Linked DNA regions of Homo sapiens: region 2 is linked to region 1. Evidence: promoter capture Hi-C in 16 types of primary human blood cells and fetal thymus (Javierre and others, 2016). All regions are on one chromosome and are shown on one strand. Each heading gives the region's core, a stretch centred on a gene start or on the middle of the fragment in contact. The rest is flanking DNA. Distances are from core to core; before and after follow the strand shown.

The links. Contacts are between HindIII fragments. The CHiCAGO score rates a contact against its expected background, and 5 or more counts as called.
Region 2: a fragment that was not itself captured here is called in contact with the fragment with the promoter of NRCAM in region 1 in 1 of 17 cell types (naive B cells); the score reaches 5.1 in naive B cells.

What each region holds. Positions count from the first base shown.
Region 1 is chr7:108,454,544-108,458,823 of GRCh38, forward strand. It overlaps NRCAM (neuronal cell adhesion molecule), which reads right to left and starts at 1,893. Exons shown (of 33, transcript NM_001037132.4): 1 at 1,700-1,893. The HindIII fragment of the contact is 7,436 bases long and covers 334-4,280 here.
Region 2 is chr7:108,380,872-108,385,151 of GRCh38, forward strand. All of the region lies in intron 2 of NRCAM (neuronal cell adhesion molecule), which reads right to left. Among named protein-coding and RNA genes, the nearest start is that of NRCAM, 73 kb to the right of the region's middle. The HindIII fragment of the contact is 192 bases long and covers 1,901-2,092 here.

The DNA.
Region 1 (4,280 bases), core at 643-3,142:
GCTATCGTTACCATTAAAGCAGCAAGTATCAGTTGCCTAACTCCATTTCAGTACTTCAGCAAGTACTGCCATTATTACAATATTTTAACAGCAGGGCATGGTTAGCACAATGCAGTCCCATAAAGCAGCCCAGCCTCCGAGGTTTGTATTCAGAGGTTACTGTGTTCCTTTCCAGGACCACCCCAGGGGGAGCTCCTGGTGCACAACCAATGCTTCCTGCCTCATTACACTTGGCTCCATCTCCTCCTGCAAAAGCCTGGGGCGAGGAAGAGCCCAGTCTCTTAGACCCGCACTTCTGAGCGTTAACCATCTGGGACTCGGAAAGGAAAAGAAAGCTTTCTTCTCAGGACAGTTCTGCGCCGGTGGTAGCCAAGGGCTGGAGCCCCTGATGCGAAGAAAAGGGAAGGAGAGAGGCGGGGTGCGAAAGAAACGCCACCGCTCGGCGCCCTCCCTCGGTGCCCGCGGCGCAGGGGCCACCCGCCAGCGTACGGGGGACGAAGATGTGGCCGCGGGCGCGGGCGGGAGGGGAGGCGATCCGGGGAAGGAAGCGGCCTGTTCGCCAGCCCCGGGGCCCGGGGAGCCCTCCAGCAGCGCTTGCGGCCCTGAGGACACCGCTTTGGGAGAAATGACGACTCCCTTGCTCACCCTACTGCGACACCCCGTCCCCCTCCGCACTCTAGCAGATGCGGGCCGGGAGTAGCTGAGCTGGCCAACCGCCTGGGACCAGGATGCGGCAGCGCCCACCCGCGCGGCGTGGAGGGGGCCGGGGGCGGCGCTCGGCGCAGATGGCGCTCGCTGCGAGATGGATGCTCCAGGGCGGGTAATCACTCCTGGCTCAACACAGCATCCCGGGCGGAGCGGATGCCAGATCCCACCGCTAAGAGCCTGGGCTGGGAAAGCAATCTTTCCAGGCAGCCCCCAGCCCGGTGCGCCGGCCCCGACAAGTCCCAGCCCTCGGAGGCAGGGCGGGGCGCAGGGACTCCCGGGACCCGCACCTGTAAGGCCGACAAAGCCCCCGCAAGCGCCCCACCCCTCTGTCCTCCGTGTCTCTCTCGTTCCGCCTCGATTCCCCGAGCCCTCTCCAGGCAGCGACTGGAGAAGCGAAGTCGGCCTCGCCCCCGAACTCCGTGGTCAGCACAGGTGTACGCACTTCCGAACAAAGCCCACGCCCAGACGTGTCCGCAGGGGCCCGAACAGGCACACGCCCGTGCGCTCCCGGCCCGGCCCCCGCGCTCCTCGCCCCGCCGGCACTGTGGCGTGACGCCCCGCGCCTCCGTGTCCAAGCCCGGGAAGCCGCCGTGCCGGGCCCGCAGGCTCTCCATGCCCAACTGCCCACGAGCAAGAGCTCTGGGCAGGGCTTCCCGGAAAGCGTGGGGTGCGGGCGCGGAGCAGAAGTTGGCCACAGGCTGGAGGGGGTGGTGGGTGCCGGCGCTGCTGGATTTCAGCTGTGCCTTCACCCAAGCGCAGGTCCCCCTGCTCCCTCTCGGCGCCCGCGGGAGTGTCGGGGGCCTGCAGGGGAGAAGGGAGTTGGAGATCTGCTTTGCCCCTCCTGCAGCGCTGCCAGCCCGGTGAGCGCTCGGCTGAACCCCGCGGCGGTGTCCAAGTGACAACGCAGCAGCCTCGCGCGTCCTCCTCCGCTCCAGCCGTCACCCCCGAGCAGGACCCAGTGTCACCGCCAGACGCGCAAGGAGCTACTTACGTTCTCGCGCCGCGCCCTCCGCTCAGCTCTGGCGCGACTGCCCAGGACCCTGGACCGCCGGTGTCCTCCGTTCTCGACGAAGCTATCCCCTCTGGCTGCTCCAGCCAGGCGGCCCCTGCGCCGTCCCCCGCGCCCGCGCGTCTGAGGCTCGGACTGCGGCGCGCGTCCGCCAGCGACCCTGGCGAAGCGAGGCTGGCCCCGCGCCGGCGCGCGCCCCCGCCGCTCCCGCCCTCTCCGCTCCCCCTCCCCGCGCCGTGCTTTTGCCCCTCCCGGCTCTCCTTAGCGTCCTCCCGTCCCCCTCCCCCGCACTCCCTGCGGGCGTCCTCCGCCTCCTCCCCTCCTGGCCAACCCCCTCTTGCCCTGCTGCTGCGACGGCAGCGAATGGGCTCCAGCCGCCGGCGCCTCGAGGGACTGGGTGGCCCCTCACCTGAGCGGCCGCCCCACCGCCAACCTCCGTCAGCCTGCGAGCGCGTGTGGCGGCGGGGGTGGGGGTGCGGGGACGGAGGGCGGGAGTGTTCCGGGGCTAGGATGGCTGGGATTTAGCTACAAAAGATGTTCCAGAAAATGGGTAGTTTTTGAATGCCACTCTCATGGGTTTAGCTTTCTGTGGGAGGTCTGTGGTCTTCTAGTTTTTTCTTTTTTAAAAAGCACTTTCTTCGAAATTCATCAGTTGGGGTGGTTGAGATTGGGTGAGTGGTTTTGGGGGTTTTGTTTTGTTTTTGCAACCGTTCTTTCCAAACACTCCCCGCCGCCCCCCACCACCGCAGAAAAAAGAGCTTTTAGCATAAGGCGGATGCTATCTATCCGCGGTAGAAACTGGGTCTTCTGGTCCCAAGGAATAGGGTTAGTTCGGATTTGCTTATTTACAAATGGGGGAGTATTATGGAGATTTTTTTTTTTTTTTTTTGGCAATGTAAATCGAGAATTAAGATTTTCCAACTGTATAGTATTTGAGTAAACACACTGCTTGCTGCATAGTTCAGGCTCCGAAGCGCACGTCTCCACTCTATCGTGGATGGTGTTCAGGATCCTTAGCCTGACCCTTGGGTCCTCCGTAATCTACTCCGGTCTGCACACAAATTACTTGTCTGCTGGGTATCACCCGACTTGACCACTTACAGCAGGCTCCAGCGCTTAGTGAGCTCAGCGGAGCCTTGATTCCTTCAGTTCTCTAATTCAGGAAAACATTTTCTGAGCTCCTCACCACCCCACCCCACCTCACCACCTCCTCCACCCCCAGCCTCCAAGGTGCTGGGGCAAGATTCAGGAATGAAAAAGAAACAGGTTCATCCTTCAAGGTCTTGACTACCCCAGTGGTCTGTTCTAACTTCAATTTGAACTTGCCCCGTCAGCTCACAGCATCTGCATGCAAGTGAGCAGCCTTCTTTTCCTTCTCCTTCTACTGCCATCCTCTCCTCCTTCTCCAGCCAAATGTGCTCTGGCCTCACAGAGCCTCCCTCGGTTCCTGAACCAGCATGATATCTGGCTGCTGGGTCATTGCACAAGTTGTTTCCACAGTCCCATCAGTGGTTCTTCTGACTCTAGTCCTTACCCAACTGCCATTCAGGTGGTACCTTGCACCTCTCAACTAATTGTCCAAATTTTCCTCTAAAATACCTTCCCCCCCGCAAAAAAAAAGATTCCATGATCCCCCTACTTGAAAGTCTGGGCTGGTGGGCTGGTTCTCTATTGCCTACAAAGTAAATTCCACATCTCCTGGTGTGCCTCTTTACAATCTGCTCCTAACTTATCTCTCCATTTTCCATAACTCTAAGCCTCTGCATGTGAGGTTCCTCCTAGCTAGAATATTGGTCCATCTCTTTTTCATTTGGCAAACTCTTGTTCATCCTTCAGAGCCTTACTTGGTTGTTACCTCCTCTGTAAGGACTATTATAATAGTGCTGGTCACCTTTTAATGATCTGTTTGCATGTCTGACTCCATAAAATTTCACTTCTTTGAGGACAATTTGTCTTATTTATTTTTGTGTAACCACATTTCTCATCAATACAAATGAAGCCACAGATAACCATAATCAACTCTCACTGCCCCATCATTTTGCCCTGTGTAAAGGACTTGAGGCCCCTCCGTTCCTTCCCCACTGCAGTAATTGCTGAGAATCCTGGGGTTGTCTTGCCTGTCCTTCCCATGTCCTTCTACTTCGTACTCTGGTTTTCCAAGATTGCCCCTCACCCCGGCCACTGAGAAACATTGATTTCTGGTCCACATTATTTTCCAGTGAATGCCACAGGGCAAACCTGTCAAGTGGGAAAATGACACCCTACTCTCTTCAGTTCTTGCCCTGGTTCTGTGTAGTAATTTATCCCCCGGGCACTGAAGCAACATTGCTTGTGTCTTCCTGTGTTACAATCTCATAAAGACCCTCTTTAAACAGCTCCTTGAACTTCTGCTTAGAATTGTTCTTTCTCTTCAGGCTCCAGTCCTGGTCTATGAAGCCAGGTTGAGGCAGACGATATTTGGTCCTGGTGAAGTCCAGGTTAGTCCTGATGCCTGGGAGACTACTTAGGCTATTGGGGGTTGCTGAAAGAATAAGGACATGAATAGAATCTCTCTCTTTTTTTT
Region 2 (4,280 bases), core at 747-3,246, 74 kb before region 1:
ACTCTCCCTCTCTTTTGTATGTATGTAATATCCCATTTCATAATAAAAAGAAGTCAGCCATGGTGGCTCATGCCTGTAGTCCCAAGTTCTCAGGAGGCAAAGGCAGAAGGAATGCTTGAGCTCAGGTGTTTGAGTCCTGTCTGGGCAACACAGAGAGACCCTATCTTTAAAAAATATATAAAAGAATATACAAAGAACTGAAAAGGAGAAAAATGCTTGGCACTAATACCCTAAGGACTAATGCCATTAAAACTATTTTGCAAGAAGATTAAATATACGTATGTAGCTATATATGTGTCATTGTAATGAAAAATAACATCAAAAAGTTAATAATCATTTGCCTGTGTTACTTTTACTGTCTTCCCATTTTTCTTCATTTTTCCCAATTGTCTGCAGTGAACATGTATTACTTTTAAACTCAAGGGAAGAAAATAATACTATTTTAAAATACTCTTGCCCACAGCTTTTTTATTTAATTGCATATCCTAAATCACATGGTAAACTGCATAGTCTAATTATATCTTGCCTGGGAGATAAAAGACAATTTTGAGTATTGCTGTGATCCAAAAAGGGCCTTCACTGTGTATCCAAGGGCAAATAGCGTTTCAAATTTCAATAGAAAATGTTAAGGGCTAGTAAAGAGTTGCTTTGAGCTGGTCTTAACATTGGCTTTGACCATTTTTTTTTTTCTTTTTTTTTTTTTTTGAGACAGAGTTTCACTCTTGTTGCCCAGGCTAGACTGCAATGGTGCGATTTCGGCTCACTTCAACCTCCGCCTCCCAGGTTCAAGAGATTCTCCTGCCTCAGGCTCCCAAGTAGCTGAGATTACAGGCATGTACCACCATGCCCGGCTAATTTTTTGTATTTTTAATAGAGACGGGGTTTCACCATGTTGGCCAGGCTGGTCTCAAACTCCTGACCTCAGGTGATCCGCCTGCCTCAGCCTCCAATAGTGCTGGGATTACAGCCGTGAGTCACTGCGCCTGGCCTGCCTTGACCATTTTTTACATGGCTTTAGGGTAATCTCATCCTATCTAGGGCAGACAGGTATGCTGGGCTCCTCTGTCTATAGCCACCCCATTAAATAAGGAGAGATACAGATGGACTGTTATGCAACAATCAATAAATAGACTTCACAGTGCAGAGATTAGTTGCCTGACTAGCAAGTTTAGACAAACAGTCCTTAAATGGGAGTGTGAGGCTCCTGCTGACATTCAGGAAAGCATCTGAGGCTGTGAAGGGGTGCATGGTAACTTCAAATTGTGTGGTGCTAAACCCACAGAGTCACAGAAGATCTGCATCAGTTTTGCTTTCCGGAGGAGGGAGATTTTGCTTTCCAGAGGAACAGAGATTTTTTTTTTTTTTGAATGTAGAAAAAAACTCTTTAGAAACAGGTAAAGGTAGAGTTTGGTAGCATTATCCAGTCAAGGAAACACTAACAAGGCTGGGCGCGGTGGTTCATGCCTCTAATCCCAGCACTTTGGGAGGCTGACGCAGGAGGATCACTTGAGTTCAGGAGTTTGAGACCAGCCTGGGGAACAAAGTGAGACCCCATCTCTATTTTTTTAATTAAATTAATTTTTTTTAATTAGCCAGGTACAGTGGCATGCACCTGTAGTCCCAGCTACTTGGAAGGCTGAGGCAGGGGGATTGCTTAAGCCCAGGAGTTCGAGGCTGCAGTGAGCTATGACTGCAGCATTGCACTCCAGCCTAGGCAACAGAATGAGACTCCATCTCTAAAAAAGGAAAGAAGAAAGAAAAAAGAAAACCCTAAACTAACAGGGCAATCTGTAGAGGTACCCTGGCATCTAAGTACTAGCACTGAGTCTCCAGATTAAGCAAGGACAGGAACAGCAGGCTCTGCTCAGAGCAGCCCAAGTTTAGTATCACTTTTCTTAAAAGCTTAATATACCAAAAACACCCCATATTGACTCTGTAAAGTAATTACCCCCAAATTACCCACTATCAATTTCTAGGAAAACAACCAGAAAAGCACTGTGGAACACTCACATTTCAATGACCTCTCTCATCACCTGCTCCCCTTCTTTCATTTACTAGTTTGTGAATTGGAGGAAATCACTAACTTTCCCTAAGCTTCAGTTCCCAAAGGGATATAATTATACTTGCCTCACAGTGCTGTTGTGAAAATGAAATGACACAGTGGCTGTAATGCCCACCACAGTGTCCTGCAGAGGCTCTGGAAGTGTGTTCCAATGTAGTCCCATCTATTCAACCACTGAGTCACACCACACACACACACACGCTCTCACACACACACACACACCCCTTGGTGTTGCCTAGGCAAACAGCCTTCTAAAGTCACTCCTGTCTGGCTCAGGACCTCCAAAATCAAGATTAAGAATCCAAACATATTAAAGTGAGAATTGGGAGTTATTTTCACTTCAGATTTCATTTAAAAATAACAAATTACAAAACAGTAGCTAGAAAGGGAACCTGCTAATGCATATTCATGAGGACTGCTAACCAGAAATAAAGACAAAAGCTGTCTTTTCTTGTAACATTAAAGTGAAAACAAATAAGATACGGAGAAGGCAGCACGACAGCCAGAACGATACTTCCATTTCAGGGATGAGGGAATTTGATATAACTTATGACAAGGGCTTGGTAACACACAACCCCTGGGAATTCTAATGAACACAACCCCTGCAGACTTCAACGGAGTTCCATCTTGAACATCCAAGGGCAGTCATCTGGCTCATGGCGAATAGATCTAACTCTTGGCTACTTAGCCAAAGAAGATTGAGAAATTTGAATAAAAATTAAGAACAAGAGCTTTTAAAATGTTTCTTTTTAATAAAGTACAGTCCCATACTTCATTAACTTCAGTTTATGCTGAAGACAATTATACATCTTCCTTGAGCCAAGAACCTGGGGAAATATAAGAAATAAAAACTGGAATTTCTTCATGGTTTTATGTTGGGGGTGTGTGCTTGGTTTTTTTCTTCTGACTCTCAAAGGAGTCTGAGATGCGTAACTGAACTTCCTACTCTGAAAAATGACCATCATGATAACATACCATTAAGACTCAGGGCTTTGAAGTGGTGCATTTGGTTTAAGAACAGGTTGATGAGAACATGAGGTATTTGATTTTCTGTTCCTAAGTTAGTTCACCAAGGATAATAGCCTCCAGCTCTTATAAGTGGGAGCTAAATGATAAGAACTTATGAAAACAAAGAAGGGAACAGCAGACACTGGGGTCTACTTGATCTGGGAGGGTGGGAGGAAGAAGCAGAAAAGATAACTATTGGGTACTGGGCTTAATACCTGGGTGATGAAATAATATGTACAACAAACCCCAAAGACATGTGTTTACCTATGTAACAAACCTTCACATGTGCCCCCAAATCTAAAATAAAAGTCAAAAAAACCCAATAATAAAAATTTAAAAAAGAGGAGAGAACCCTTGATCCAGCCAAAGAAAAACAAAAACAAAACCAAAAACAAAAAACAGGTTGGGGGTGAACTGGTAGAAAAAAAATAAAGAATTGTTGAAGGGCACAAGATGGGAGATGGGTTGGGGGAAAGAAAAGCTCCTATTTCCATATGAATTTGAAGGTTGTATTTGAACTTTTAAAAACCTGAAAGTAGCTAAAAAAAAATCCATCAGTTCTGTTAAGAGTCCTCTTCAAAGGAAAGGAGATTTGGCAGAGGAGATTTGAAGGCAGTGATAAGAGTAAAAATAAAAACCCTTTTCATGTTTTTACCTCTGGTGCTTAAACTGCCCTTGGATTACAGCGCTTTTCTCACTGTAAAGTATTAATACATATGAATCCTGAGCCTCCTGTTAAAACACATGCTCTGATTCAGCAAGTCTAGGGTAGGACCCACAACTTTGCTTTCTAACAAGCTCTGGGTGATGTCCACACTGCTGGTTTATTGACCAAGCTTTCAGTAACATGTAAAGAAATTTGAGTTGCAGTGCCTACTATTGGTTCATCACATTAGGATTTGGAAGTTTTGTCTCCTAAGCCCAGTTTTTGTGCTTGACAGATACTAGCTTGCCCTAGTTACCTCATGGGTTATCGTGAAGCTGAAACTAAACAACATGCCAAGTGCTTTATGAAGTGTGAAGAACAAAGAATAGCAGTATGATCACCATCATGTAAAATAAGATCATAAAAGACAAATGACTTTCTGAAGGACCCAAAGTAAGAGGCAGAACTAGACTCAAAATCTGTAGCATCTGATCCTAAGCAAGTGCTTTGTACTCTAAAGTGTTGCAACTTAAGGCGTTATGAGGAATAGATCACATTTATTTC